Linked DNA regions of Homo sapiens: all the other regions are linked to region 2. Evidence: promoter capture Hi-C in 16 types of primary human blood cells and fetal thymus (Javierre and others, 2016). All regions are on one chromosome and are shown on one strand. Each heading gives the region's core, a stretch centred on a gene start or on the middle of the fragment in contact. The rest is flanking DNA. Distances are from core to core; before and after follow the strand shown.

What was found. The method cuts DNA at HindIII sites, captures the fragments that hold promoters and counts their contacts. A CHiCAGO score of 5 or more calls a contact.
Region 1: a fragment that was not itself captured here is called in contact with the fragment with the promoter of PHOX2B in region 2 in 2 of 17 cell types (M2 macrophages and endothelial precursors); the score reaches 6.7 in M2 macrophages.
Region 3: a contact is called between a fragment that was not itself captured here and the fragment with the promoter of PHOX2B in region 2, in 2 of 17 cell types (monocytes and M2 macrophages). The highest score is 5.9, in monocytes.

What each region holds. Positions count from the first base shown.
Region 1 is chr4:41,266,443-41,271,211 of GRCh38, forward strand. It overlaps UCHL1 (ubiquitin C-terminal hydrolase L1), which reads left to right. Exons shown (of 9, transcript NM_004181.5): 9 at 1,545-2,013. The coding sequence ends at 1,631. Among named protein-coding and RNA genes, the nearest start is that of UCHL1, 12 kb to the left of the region's middle. The HindIII fragment of the contact is 3,612 bases long and covers 1-3,601 here.
Region 2 is chr4:41,747,417-41,752,055 of GRCh38, forward strand. PHOX2B (paired like homeobox 2B) reads right to left here and starts at 1,309. Exons shown (of 3, transcript NM_003924.4): 1 at 954-1,309; 2 at 1-120. The coding sequence starts at 1,194. It overlaps PHOX2B-AS1 (PHOX2B antisense RNA 1), which reads left to right and starts at 933. Exons shown (of 4, transcript NR_187403.1): 1 at 933-1,170. The HindIII fragment of the contact is 1,442 bases long and covers 678-2,119 here.
Region 3 is chr4:41,291,699-41,295,942 of GRCh38, forward strand. No RefSeq gene overlaps it. Among named protein-coding and RNA genes, the nearest start is that of UCHL1, 37 kb to the left of the region's middle. The HindIII fragment of the contact is 536 bases long and covers 1,716-2,251 here.

The DNA.
Region 1 (4,769 bases), core at 546-3,045, 480 kb before region 2:
ATTAGGTCCCTGCACGTTAGCTCTATAGAAGATGGTTATTCTCTTTAAAGGTACATCTTTAATAGTGAAATCAATATTGTATGTCCTATAGTAAGGTCAATTCAGGGAAGACAGGTCTGGAATACTGATATATTAAAAAACTTGGTAGAGGATAAAATGTTGATGTCAATCCAGATACTCTTTGGTTGCTTTTTTTGAGAAAGGGTCTCGCTGTGTCATTCAGGCTGGAGTGCAGTGGTGCAATCATGGCTTACTGTAGCCTTGAAGTCCTTGCTCAAGCAATCCTCCCACCTAAGTCTTCTGAGTAGCCAGGACTAGAAGCGCACACCACCATGCCCAGCTAATTTTTAAATTTTTAGTAGAGATTTTGCCCAGGCTGGTCTTGAACTCCTGAGCTCAAGTCATCCGCTGCCTCAGCTTCCCAAAGTGCTGAGATTGCAGGCCTGAGCTGTGTCTGGCCCAAACTCATTGAGTTGGTGATTTCTAAATTTTAGGAGTGATGTTTCATTACCATTCTGTATCATAGAGCATTCCTTTTCTCCTTCAGGGTCTTATACTATGGTTTACAGAGCTATCTTTCCACTGGGCTTTTTTACAGATTGAACAGAGTAATATTTTTGATCCCAAAACAATTATATCCTAGAAGTTGGTAAATAACACTGGGATCAGTTTCCTGTTACCAGTCTTTGTCATCTAGATCTTAGAAGTAGTAACGCATGTCACTTCACCATCAATCTCTAAGGTTCCATGCTTGTCTGTACCTAGAATATCAGGTAAACGTTAAGGCTGTTTTTTTTTTTGTTTGTTTGTTTGTTTTCTGAGACGGAGTCTCGCTCTGTCGCCCAGGCTGGAGTGTAGTGGCGCGATCTCGCCTCACTGCAAGCTCCGCCTCCTGGGTTCACGCCATTCTCCTGCCTTAGCCTCTCAGAGTAGCTGTGACTGCAGATGCCCGCCATCATGCCCGGCTAATTTTTTTTGTATTTTTAGTAGAGACGTGGTTTCACCATGTTGGCCAGGATGGTCTCTATCTCCCAGCCTCGTGATCCGCCTGCCTCAGCCTCCCAAAGTGCTGGGATTACAGGCGTGAGCCACTGCGCCCGGCCACGTTAAGGCTGTTTTTTAAAATGTTTATTTGAAAGACAATTTTCTTTATTCCAGGAATTTCTGAGTTACAACTTTTCACTTATGCCACCTTATGGAAGAAAGATCAATTTCCAATCTTTAGATTTGAGGAAAATAACGTTCATAGTTGTGTTTTTGTTGTTGGGTTTTTTTGTTTTTGTTTTTTTTAACTTTTCCAAAACCAGGTACAAAGTGAGAGAAGCACAAAACCATTTGGTGGAAGTGATAAGTCAAATCCATGATGTAACCTTGTCTTTCCCATCACCTGATTTTTTGCTTTAAGCCCTGGTTTTCAAATTAATGATGGAATTAAAGTTGATGAGGGTGAACTTTGAGCATTAATAGACCTTGGAGCCTTTCCCTATGTGACTTTCATTTTGAGCTCTTGCTGTTTGGATTTTAATGACATTTCTCCTTTCCAGGACGCTGCCAAGGTCTGCAGAGAATTCACCGAGCGTGAGCAAGGAGAAGTCCGCTTCTCTGCCGTGGCTCTCTGCAAGGCAGCCTAATGCTCTGTGGGAGGGACTTTGCTGATTTCCCCTCTTCCCTTCAACATGAAAATATATACCCCCCCATGCAGTCTAAAATGCTTCAGTACTTGTGAAACACAGCTGTTCTTCTGTTCTGCAGACACGCCTTCCCCTCAGCCACACCCAGGCACTTAAGCACAAGCAGAGTGCACAGCTGTCCACTGGGCCATTGTGGTGTGAGCTTCAGATGGTGAAGCATTCTCCCCAGTGTATGTCTTGTATCCGATATCTAACGCTTTAAATGGCTACTTTGGTTTCTGTCTGTAAGTTAAGACCTTGGATGTGGTTTAATTGTTTGTCCTCAAAAGGAATAAAACTTTTCTGCTGATAAGATAGCCACAGCTGATTCTCATTTTCTTTTACCCTCTCCTCAATATGTCAGGTTATTTTGGTAGTAATATATGAATGTCTTCCACATAAGTAACTCATACAGTGCTGCCAAGAATTACCATAAAAGCATTGGTTTGATGTGTCTTTGGATTTTTTTTTGCATTTGTATTCCCTATGTATACCTGTAGAAACTAATTTTTAAAGATTTTTAAATAGGCAAATTTTGTAGCACAATTTTAGACTTATAAAAATATTGAAGACAAAAAGAAAATACTGGACATTGTAGAAGTCCCATAAACCCACCACCCAGTTTCCTCTATTGTATTAAGCGGGGTTTTCTAGAGGACAGAACTAATAGGATATATGTATGTATAAAGGGGAGTTTATTAAGGAGTGTTGACCCACACGATCACAAGGTAAAGTCCCATGGTAGGCCCTCTGCAAGCTGAGGAGCAAGGAAGCCAGTCCGAGTCTCAAAACCTCAAAAGTAGGAAAACCAATAGTGCAGCCTTCACTCTATAGTCAAAGGTCCAAGAGTCCCAAAGCTGAAAAACTTGGGAGTCTGATATTCCAGGGGAGGACACATCCAGCACAGGAGAAAGGTGGAGGTGGGAGACTGGGCCAGTCTAGTCTTCCCATGTTCTTTTGCCTGCTTTCATTTTGGCTGCACTGGCCGCTGATTAGATTGTGCCCACGCAGATTGAGGGTGGGTCTGCCTTTCCCAGTCCACTGACTCAAGTGTTAATCTCCTTTAGCAACACCCTCACAGACACCCAGGAAAAGTACAATACCTTCAATCCAAGTTGATGCTCAATATTAACCATCACAGTTATTGACATATCGATACACTGCTATTAAGTCCATAGCTTGTTTAGATTTCCTGGCTGTTTTCCCTAATGTCCTTTGTTTTAGGATCCCATCCGGGATCCCACATGACTGTTAGTTGCCATGTCTCACCAGGCTCCTTTGGGCTTTGTCAGTTTCTCAGACTTCTCTTCTCCTTGGATGACCTTGACAAATTGGAGGAGTACCATCAAGTATTTTGTAAGGTGCCCTCTATTGGGATTTGTCTAATGTTAGACTAGGGTTATGGGTTTTGGGGAGGAAGACCACAGAGGCAAAGCGTTGTTTTCATCATATGCTACAAAGGGTACATAAGCATAATTTATCACTGATTCTCACCTCTTACCTGGCTGAGGTCGTGTTTGAAAGACTTCACCATAAACTCACCCCCACTGCCTTTTCCATGCTGTACTCCTAGGAAGTCACCATGCAAAGCCCACACTTAAGGAGTGGAGGTGTATGTTCTATCTCCTTGAGGGCCAAGTATCTATATGAATTATTTGGAATTCTTTTGGGAGAGTTGTCTTTTTTCTCCTATGTAACCATTTTTATCAGTATGAACTCATATCATATACTGTGGATTTATGTTATAATCCAGTACTACCTGTTGCCCACATTGTTCTGCTTTAGTTGTTGGGAGCTCTTTCAGTTGGCTCCTATGTTGCTTTGACATACCCCAATCAGTGTAGCATGTTTTGTTTTTCTTAGCAATTCCTTACTGTCTAGAAATTAGTTTTTTTTTTTAAAAAAGCAAAAGTCTTTGGCATTTGTTGTTAAGCTTTACTTTATAGATCAATGTGCCCTTGTTTTATAGATAAGGATACACTATTATGTAATGTATAGGTTTTCATTAAATATTAAAGGAGGACGTCTGTTCTCAACAATGGACGTTGAATGTAACAGTTCACTTCCAGTTACACAAAATGAGGGAAGCAGGGAAGAAACCCAATGCTTCCTGCCTATACTGTGATCCTCACAAAAGGGCTCTGTCCTGTCTGGTGCCAGGAATCCAGATAACTTGGGTCTCAACTGCCTTATTCACAGTTCTCTAAGCCCTGATTATGGTGGTAATATTCCTGATTCCAACTTTTTTTTTTTGGGGGGGGGGCATAATTTACAGAAAATTTATTCATGTATTCAAATTATCTGCAATTTCTTTTTTTTAAAAATTATTATACTTTAAGTTTTAGGGTACATGTGCACAACATGCAGGTTTGTTACATATGTATACATGTGCCATGTTGGTGTGCTGCACCCATTAACTTGTCATTTAGCATTAGCTATATCTCCTAATGCTATCCCTCCCCCCTCCCCCAACCCCACAACAGTCCCCGGTGTGTGATGTTCCCCTTCCTGTGTCCATGTGTTCTCATTGTTCAGTTCCCACCTATGAGTGAGAACATGCGGTGTTTGGTTTTTTGTCCTTGTGATAGTTTGCTGAGAATGATGGTTTCCAGCTTCATCCATGTCCCTACAAAGGACATGAACTCATCATTTTTTATGGCTGCATAGTATTCCATGGTGTATATGTGCCACATTTTCTTAATCCAGTCTATCATTGTTGGACATTTAGGTTGGTTCCAAGTCTTTGCTATTGTGAATAGTGCCACAATAAACATACGTGTGCATGTGTCTTTATAGCAGCATGATTTATAATCCTTTGGGTATATACCCAGTAATGGGATGGCTGGGTCAAATGGTATTTCTAGTTCTAGATCCCTGAGGAATGGCCACACTGACTTCCACAATGGTTGAACTAGTTTACAGTCCCACCAACAGTGTAATAGTGTTCCTACTTCTCCACATCCTCTCCAGCACCTGTTGTTTCCTGACTTTTTAATGATTGCCATTCTAACTGGTGTGAGATGGTATCTCGTTGTGGTTTTGATTTGCATTTCTCTGATGGCCAGTGATGATGAGCATTTTTTCATGTGTTTTTTGGCT
Region 2 (4,639 bases), core at 59-2,558:
GAGTCTCCGCGAAGACCCTTTCCAGCTCTTTGAGCTGGGCACTGGTGAAAGTGGTGCGGATGCGCCGCTGCTTGCGCTTCTCGTTGAGGCCGCCGTGGTCCGTGAAGAGTTTGTAAGGAACTAGAGTATGACAGAGGAGACAGAAAGTGAGCAAATCAGCCGGCAGCTCGCCGGCCGTGGAGCTAGAATGTGAGGACTCCAAGGTCAGGTCATACGGCAGCCGCTACCTACACCCGCGCGAGAGAGTTGCCGAGAGAAGCTGCGGGAAGAAACCGAGGAAATTTGTTATCTGCGGAAACCTGGGCTCAAACTTCGGGCTTGGCGGAGTCCTTTCTGGCACAAGCGCCTTTGGGTGGATTGAAACAGCGCGATGTGACGGACTTGAGATAGTGCTTTCAGCAGGAAAAAACCAGAGAGGAAAAAAATCCAAAAACATCAGTCGGAATATCAGGGAGCCAGGAAAGAAGTTACCAAACAGTCCCACTTTGGGAACTTTTCAATTCTCAGAAAGTTGACCCGGCTCAAAAGTTGGGGGAAAGAGCTGCAAAAAAATAATAATAAATTAAAGAAATAATCATAAAAATGACCAGCCAAAGAGGTGTGAGCCGCTGTCGGTTCTTAAAAAAAGAGACACTGCCAGTAATGAGCTTTACTCTTTGTTATTTAATTATTTTCTAAGCTTTACGTCTCATCGCAAAGTAAATAAATTATGCCTATCATTTTGGCAGCTTAAGATAATTTTGTTGGCGGTTCGGGTGTGACTAGGATAGTGTAACCCTGTAAGTGAATTACCCCTCCCTGCAATCGCTTCTAACGTGATAAATTCTTTCATTTGTGTAAGCAAATTTCGTTTGGTAAATACTAAACACATTTCCATTTTCAAATGCAATCAAGGCTTCCTATATACGGGCGGAAAGGCGGCTTCCTCCGCTGAGAAAGCTGAAGGTCCTTACCTGCGGCGTACGGACTGCTCTGGTGGTCCCTGAGGGTGCCCAGGCTGCAGGATCCCGGCGTGAGGGAAGGGCAGCCGGACGTGGCCCCAAAAGTGGTCCTTATCGGGTTATACTGGAAGCCACTGGCCTGGCTGCAGGAACTGAAGTCAGCATAGGCTGAAGCCAGGCTCGAGGTGTCCATCCCAGCCATACAGGACTCGTAGGCAGAGGAATTGAGGTAAGAATATTCCATTTTATACATTGAAAAGGTTCTGGATGGCTCAGCCAAGTGGAAAAATGAAATAAAAGATGGATATGGAGAAGGTGGCTGGAGTGGGGAGATGTGCACAGCTCAACGCCTGCCTCCAAACTGGCCTCCTTACTACCAGCAGAGCCTAGTTTTATGAAAAAGCCTCCTATGAGATGCCTTGTCTGAGGTCTCTAGAGCATATAGTCCTCATAATAAACTTGGCTCTTTCCACTTGGACAATAGCAAAGCGGTTGGTCTTATTGCTGGCGCTTTTTACATGACAATAACTCATCCGTCTATTGGGCTGGCACTGGGGAACTGAGCTGTCCAACCTCCCTATCATTGATTCCTGCATCTCTAATTAGAATTTAATACCACACCATTACGCACCGAGCCCCTGATCCTCCCTTCTAACCAGCTCCCTGCCCTTTAATTCAATCACACTACTTGGAAATAATGAAAGTTGGGTGACGATTCTCCCTGATCCAATTTCCCCGAGCTTTTAAGCCTTTTTAACTGATCATATACCTTAGGCATAAATTGAGATAGTGTGTGTGTTTTCCCCCTTCTTCGTCCTCTTCTTTTTTTCCCCCTCGGTTAGGGAGAAGAAACCTTGATGTCATAGAAAACCTGTTTTGTAAGAGTGTTACACGCTCAATTTAACAACAAGCCTACCCCCCGAAGTGCATGAAATGTTATAAAGGACTGGGACATTGGCAAGACTCAGGCGCCCTGTAACATAGAGTAAGTGGGCCAAGGGGGTTTATGTGAACGATAAGCGGATTTCTTTAAAAATACACCTGGTAGAGGGGGTTAAAAAAAAGAGAGACAGAGAGAAAGCATCTTATAAATTGCATTTCTTCTTGCAGCTAAATGTGCTTTCAAGAGACTCAGGGTATACAGCCACTTAAAAATAATAATAAAAAAATCTGAGGAAAGCTTTCGAATGTGAAACATCTGGATTCTCGACCGTTGTGTTCTTTGCTCTCAGTTCTGTCTGTTTGCATTAGCGCAAGCCTTGGTTGGTTTGAGTTTCTGTGAGGTTGTTCGTTTTAATTACACCATAACTGGCAAGCGAGCATGAAGTGTACCCAAATGTATCTCCTCTTTCATCTCTTTCGGGCGCTCTCCCTCTTTCTCGCCTCTTTTTTTTTTTCAGGTGCCCACAATCCTCCACAGACCCGGGGATTGTGTCTGTTTGCCTTTTAGGTTTGCGGACTGTAGTGAGGGAAATTCTTGCCATGTAAATGCCCAGGCAAGGGCTCCAGGTCGGGCACCTTTCTTGTCCGATTCCTCAGGCTTTTGGGTGCTGGCAGCGAGGCACAGACAAAGGAGCGAGCAGTGATTTGTGGACTTCAGTGGCCCCATGATTTAAGCGGAGGGTAATTTTCATTTGGTTTGTTAGGCCCTAGCAGAATAAGGGAAACTATTTCATTAAATCCTTCCTCTCGGTGGACAAGAGGGGGAAAGCTTAGCTGAATCGCCGTGTGGTGTAAACAAACCCTGGATATTTTATATGAATTAAATGTGTAGATAATTAGTTTTATTGCATTCATTACCCCCTTTATGTGCTCTGTAACAAGTCAGTAATTAAAGTAACAAACTCATAAAGTCTTTATAGGGGCATTTAGGCGTTCAGTGTTTGCCAAACTAAGTGGTTTAATTCGATGCTAGTGCCGGGGAGTGGATGGGCTCCCGCTCTCCCCTGCCACCGTGTTTTATTGCGCACTAAACTGCCGCGGACGCAGTAATGGATTAAACGGGGACAGCGGTCCCCCAGCCTTGTGCTTCTTTGCAGGGTGAGTTTCAGGCTCGTTTCAGGTGGTTGCAAATCCTCGGGGCGTGAGGAAGCGCTAAAGTCGGGAGTGCAGGGAGCCGGACCTACCGAGGATCCTGGTGATAGTTTTATGGGGAGGGCTGATAGTTTTATTGCAGTTGTATGTTGTACAATGCGTATTTGATAAAGAAGGGCCCTTGGTGACCAGTGTGCACTTTTTTGTGCACGGGGGTGAAATGAAAATAAATGTATACAAGGTTTTACTGCGGCGGGAAACAAATTGCAACGCTCTAAATGGTTTTTCTTTATGGTCACCAGACAAGAGGAGAAAAGGGATGCAAACATCTGTCTTCAGTCCCCTAAACCTAAAGGCCAGCAAAGACGGATGCGAATCCAAGTGCTATTACAGCGGAGATTTGTCTTTATTTATCCCGCTCTCATGAATATGAATTTGCATTTGGGCCGGGAGGTGGCTGTATCCCTTTGGACTCCACACATGGAATTTCCCCCACGCTCATCCCCCTCCCCAACCACTTAAGGGAGGTGGGGGATAGGTTGTCAAGCACAAGGCTGAGATCGTCCAAGTTTCTTCGTTCCCTCGGATTTCGGGTTGGGGGATGTGCTTGCTGGTTTTCTGAACGCAACTCTGCCGCCGAGGCCTGCACTCAGGAGATGTGGATGTAGGGAGCACAGGCCGGGGTGTCCACCGCCAGCCCGCTCCTCTGCTGTAGGGTTTAAGCGCGTTTCCCTGCAGAAGAGAGTGACCAGGGGTGGTCAGGAGGTGATGAATTTCGGCTCCAAGGCCTATTTTTGACAGTAACCAGGTTCACACCCCGCTTGGCACTAGAGCCTTACTGCACCTGGGGTGTGTCTCCGCGTGGTGCAGAGCGCGCGCTCTACTCCGGAAGCTACGGCCGGGTGCCGCGCCACCGCTGTGCGCCCTGGGCCTGATCCCTACGCCCTAGTCGAGTGCAGGGCAGGGCAATTTCGCCGTGGGTCCTAGTTTGCTGACAGTTCCCAGGCCCCTTTAGCTTTTGGGGAGGAGGCGAGACTAGGACCTAAAAAGTGCTGGGAGCTCGGAGTAGAGGGGTTCATGTTGCCAGTTTCTGAGGATTGCTCTTAGGTGAAGATGTGGAACTTGGAAATTTAGGTGGTGCACAGAGGCACTTCCTGAGCGAAAGGGAGTGTTGGGGTGGGGAGTTCAGTGGGCACCTCAGGGGACCTGGATGCTGACGGGGCATCAGAGGGTGTCAAAAGGAGAAGCTAAGGGATCTGGGCGAGGTCTCAGCCGAAGGGCGCTGGCAAGGGAAGTGCTTGGCCGGGGAGGGTGCCCGGGGGGCGGTCAAGGGGCAGGCCCGGGGCTCTGTCCCTCCCGGTCCTGGGGTCCCTTCCCGTCCCGCGGTTCCGGAACGCCTCGCCAGCCCTCTCTGGGCGCCCCCTGCTGCCGGGCGCCCCCTGCTGCCGGCCGCCCCGGGTCGGGGTGCCGTGAGCCTTCTCGCCTTTGTACCAGGAGACCTTTCAGCGCCGGGCCCACACGGTCGGATGAGCAAATGCGCTTGACTTCATTTTCCCCTTTGTAGACCTTGTAGGTTTATTTTGTTCAGTGTCACCATCCCTCCCCCACCACCCCTGGCCTATCGTCCCTCTGCCCGTCTTTTGTGGCCCGGGGTCCTGCTTCTG
Region 3 (4,244 bases), core at 734-3,233, 460 kb before region 2:
TTTTTAGTAGAGATGGGTTTCACCATATTGGCCAGGCTGGTCTCAAACTCCTGACCTCGTGATTTGCCTGCCTCGGCCTCCCAAAGTGCTGGGATTACAGGTGTGAGCTACCGTGCCCGGCCCAGAATTTCCTTTCTTTTTAAAGTTGAAACAATATTCCATTGCATGCACAGACTATACCACATTTTGTTTATCCATTCATCTGCTGATGGACATTTGGGTTATTACCAACTTTTGATGCTTGTGAATAATGCTGCTATGAATATGGGTATACAAATATTAATACCTCTTTGAGATCCTGTTTTTAAATTCCTTATGCCCATAAGTGGAATTCCTGGATATTTGGAAGTTCTATTTTTAATTAGAAAAATAGTTTTTGAGGAACTGTCATATAGTATGTTTCCCATAGCAACTGCACCATTTTACATTTCCACTGGCAATGCATAAGGATTCCAATTTCTCCACATTCTCACCAACACTTATCTTCTGTTTTTTTTTTTTTGAAAAATGTTAAAGTAATCATCCTAGTGGGTATGGAGGTGCTATCTCATTGTGGTTTTGATTTGCGTTTTCCTAATGATTAGTGATATTGAGCATCTTTATATGTCATACATAAAAAGAATGAAAAGGTAACCTATACAATGAGAGAAAATATTTGCAAATCATATGTCTGATAAAGGGTTAAAATATATAGGGTTAATTCACTCATCTATAAAGGGTTAATTCACTCATATAGATGTCTTTTCTTTTCTTTTCTTTTCTTTTTTTTTTTTTTTTTTTTTGAGACGGAGTCTTGCTCTGTCACCCAGGCTGAAGTGCAGTGGTGCGATCTCGGCTCACTGCAAGCTCCACTTCCTGGGTTCATGCCATTCTCCTTCCTTAGCCTCCTGAGTAGCTAGGACTACAGGTGCCCACCACAACTCCCGGCTAATTTTGTTTTTGTATTTTTAGTAGAGACAGGGTTTCACCATGTTAGCCAGGATGGTCTCGATCTCCTGACCTCATGATCCTCCCACCTCGGCCTCCCAAAGTGCTGGGATTACAGGCATGAGCCACTGTGCCTGGCCTATAGATGTCTTTTCTAAAAAAAGAAAGATAAAGGGTTAATTCACTCATATAGATGTCTTTTCTAAGAAAGAAAGAGAGAGAGAAAGAGAAAGAAAAGAAAGAAAGAAAGAAAGAAAGAAAGAAAGAAAGAAAGAAAGAAAGAAAGAAAGAAAAGAAAAGAAAAGAAAAGAAAAGAGAAAAGAAAAGAGGGAGAGAAGGAGGGAGGAAAGAAAAGAAAAGAAACCAGAATGCCAGAATGGCATAGAGCCATGTGAGGTTGCACTTAATGGACTGCAGAGTAGCAGCACGAGAGTCCCCCATGGGATGCATTAACAAGGCTTTCTGGAGGGCAGGAATCCTGAGTGGTCCCAAACTTGACTGTACATTGTAATCAACTGGAATGCCTTAAGGAGTCCCAATGTGTGGGTTCCACCACAGGGATTCTCATTTATTCAGTTGGGGTACAGCCTGGGCATCTGTATGTTTTAGAAGTTCCCAGATGAGAGATGAAAGTGTTCTGGAACTAGACAGTGGTGATGGCTGTATATTCTGAACGTATTAGAACAGATTATATGTCACTAATGGTAAATGCTATGTTTGTGTATTTTACCACACACACAAAAGTTCCCTGATGATGCTATGGGCAAGACAAAGTTGACAATCAACAAAGCTTTGTTGCCATTTCTCAGATAATAAGAATCAAGTGGAAGTCTTTGTTAAATAAATAGATTGCCAGACCTCAAAGCCAGGAAGTCTCATTCTGTTTATCTGGATGGGGGCAAAGGAATCTGTGCTTTCAAATAGAACACCAGGTAATTCTTCTTTCTTTTTTTGAGATGGAGTCTCTGTTGCCCAGGCTGGAGTACAGTGGCATGATCTCGGTTCACTGCAACCTCTGCCTCCCAGGTTCAAGCGATTCTCCTGCCTCAGCCTCCCGAGTAGCTGAGACTACAGGCCCGTGCCACCACACCCGGCTAATTTTTTTAGTAGAGACGGGGTTTCACGGTGTTAGCCAGGATGGTCTCAAAATTCTGACCTCGTGATCCACCTGCCTCAGCCTCCCAGAGTGCTGGGATTACAAGCATGAGCCACCGTGCCCGGCCAACACCAAGTAATTCTTATACAAGAGAAGTTTGGGAAACCCAGATATACCCAGTGCTTCCCAAGCCTGCTCAATTGTAAGAATCACCAGGGGATCCTGTTAAGCTTCCAAATCTATTGATAGGCCCATCTAGACTTTTTTTTTTTTTTTTTTGAGACAGAGTCTCACTCTATCACCCAGGCTGGAGTGCAGTGGTGCAACCTTGGCTCACTGCAACCTCCACCTTCTGGGTTCAAGCGATTCTCCTGCCTCAGCCTCCCAAAGTGCTAGGATTACAGGTGTGAGCCACTGAGCCTGGCCCATCCAGACCTATTAAACTTGGATCTCCAGAGGAAGGCTGGGACTTGGTGGACTTAATATGCTACCCAGCTAATTCTCCTGACCAGGCACACTTGAGAAACACCATCTAGTCTAGCCCTCAGTGTTGGCTATTCTACAAAACCTCCTTAAAGAAAAAATCAAATTCCTTACTCCCAGAGATGCTAATTCTGGGTGGGGCCCAAGTATCCAAAGTTTATTATTTTTTGTTTTATAAGCTACCATCCCTGAGTTTGAGGAATAACTGAAATGAATCACTGTTGCAGCCATTCTTTTGGAAAGCAAATTGTGCTCATGTTTCATGGTTACTTATTGAGTCCTTGAGCATGTGCAGTTCTACACAGCAGTATATCCAGAAGCTGAGAATTAGAAAGGTAAGGGTGTCTCAGCCTGCTGTAAGGGAGATGGCTGTGCTTTAGTCAGGAGTAGTCTGAGGAAGCCTTCTGGTGCAGCATAACTCAGCAGGTTTGGAGTGCAGGTGCACAACTCCACACAGTATTTAACCATGCCATGTCAGGCACATTATGTAACCACGCCACGTAAGGTGCATTAGGTGATCACCCATGTGAGCTCATGCTTGGCTTGGAGTCACTATTGCCTGTAAAAGGTATAATTACCCTGCTGACACTGTACATATGGCTCATGCCCAGGGAGAGAATGTACATACAGCTCGTGCCCACAGCTCATGCCTAGGCTCGCTTGTGCCAGAGAGAGGGTAAAAGCCATGTTGAAACTGTCTACAATTCCTCGAATGTTTTTCCAGCTACCTGCCACCCCACTGACTCCCCTCGGACCTCAGTTAGAACCTAACACCTGCCCGTGAAGTAGCTGGGAACAAGTCATGGAAGCAGGAAGAAAAGGATTGAGATGCACAAAGAGTAAAGAAAGAGAATCCTCGGTGACAGCTTGCTGTCATGTGGGGCGAAACAGAGATCCCTGGTGAGCTTTGACATCTCCTCCAAGGGGCCTGGTTGGCAGAGTGTCCAGGGTTGGGTCTTGGGGGAAGTCTCTGGTGGGCTGTGTCCATTCTCTATCTATCTGGATCCTAAGCTAATTAAAGGAAGCTGCTGTAGCCTTCCTCCAAGCCAAGGAGCTCTATGATTGCTTCTGACCAGAATATGGTTCTACTTGAGGCAGAAAACCCTTAAGAAGATGAATTCTTTTCCAGTATCTTGGGCTTGATAGGAAAATACACGAGTCTGACAGTCAATTAGAATGAATCAGAATTCATTTATTTCAGTAATCTTCATATCTGTACAAGGCAATCCTCTATTTTACTCTGCCTATCCAAGCGTTTTCAGTTGTCTCCTATGGTTGTTATAAGCTTTTTCTCTTTGTCTTGCCAACATCCATATCATCTCTTCTTATGTTGAGAGTATAGGGAGAAACAGACACAGGCATGGCTCCTTGAATAGCCCTCCCAGAGGATCAAGTGCATGACAGATCGAGGCAGAAAGAAGCGTAGTGAAAGTAGTGACCTAGAGGGTGCTGCTTATCTGGCTCTGCTGGCTCTGACCCCTGGAAACTTGGCGGCTGTGGTCAGGTAGGGTTCTTAAATAATCCACTGTTTATCCCAGACATGAAGGAAACAAATTACAGTAATGAGCCCTATAATGACGTTTCAGTCATCGATGAACTGCATATATGACAGTGGTCCCATAAGAGTATAATGGAGCTGAAAAATTCCTATTGCCTAGTGACATTGTAACCATCATAGCACAACTTCACTCTAGTGTGGTGATAATGCTGGTGTGAACAAACTTACTGCACTGCCAGT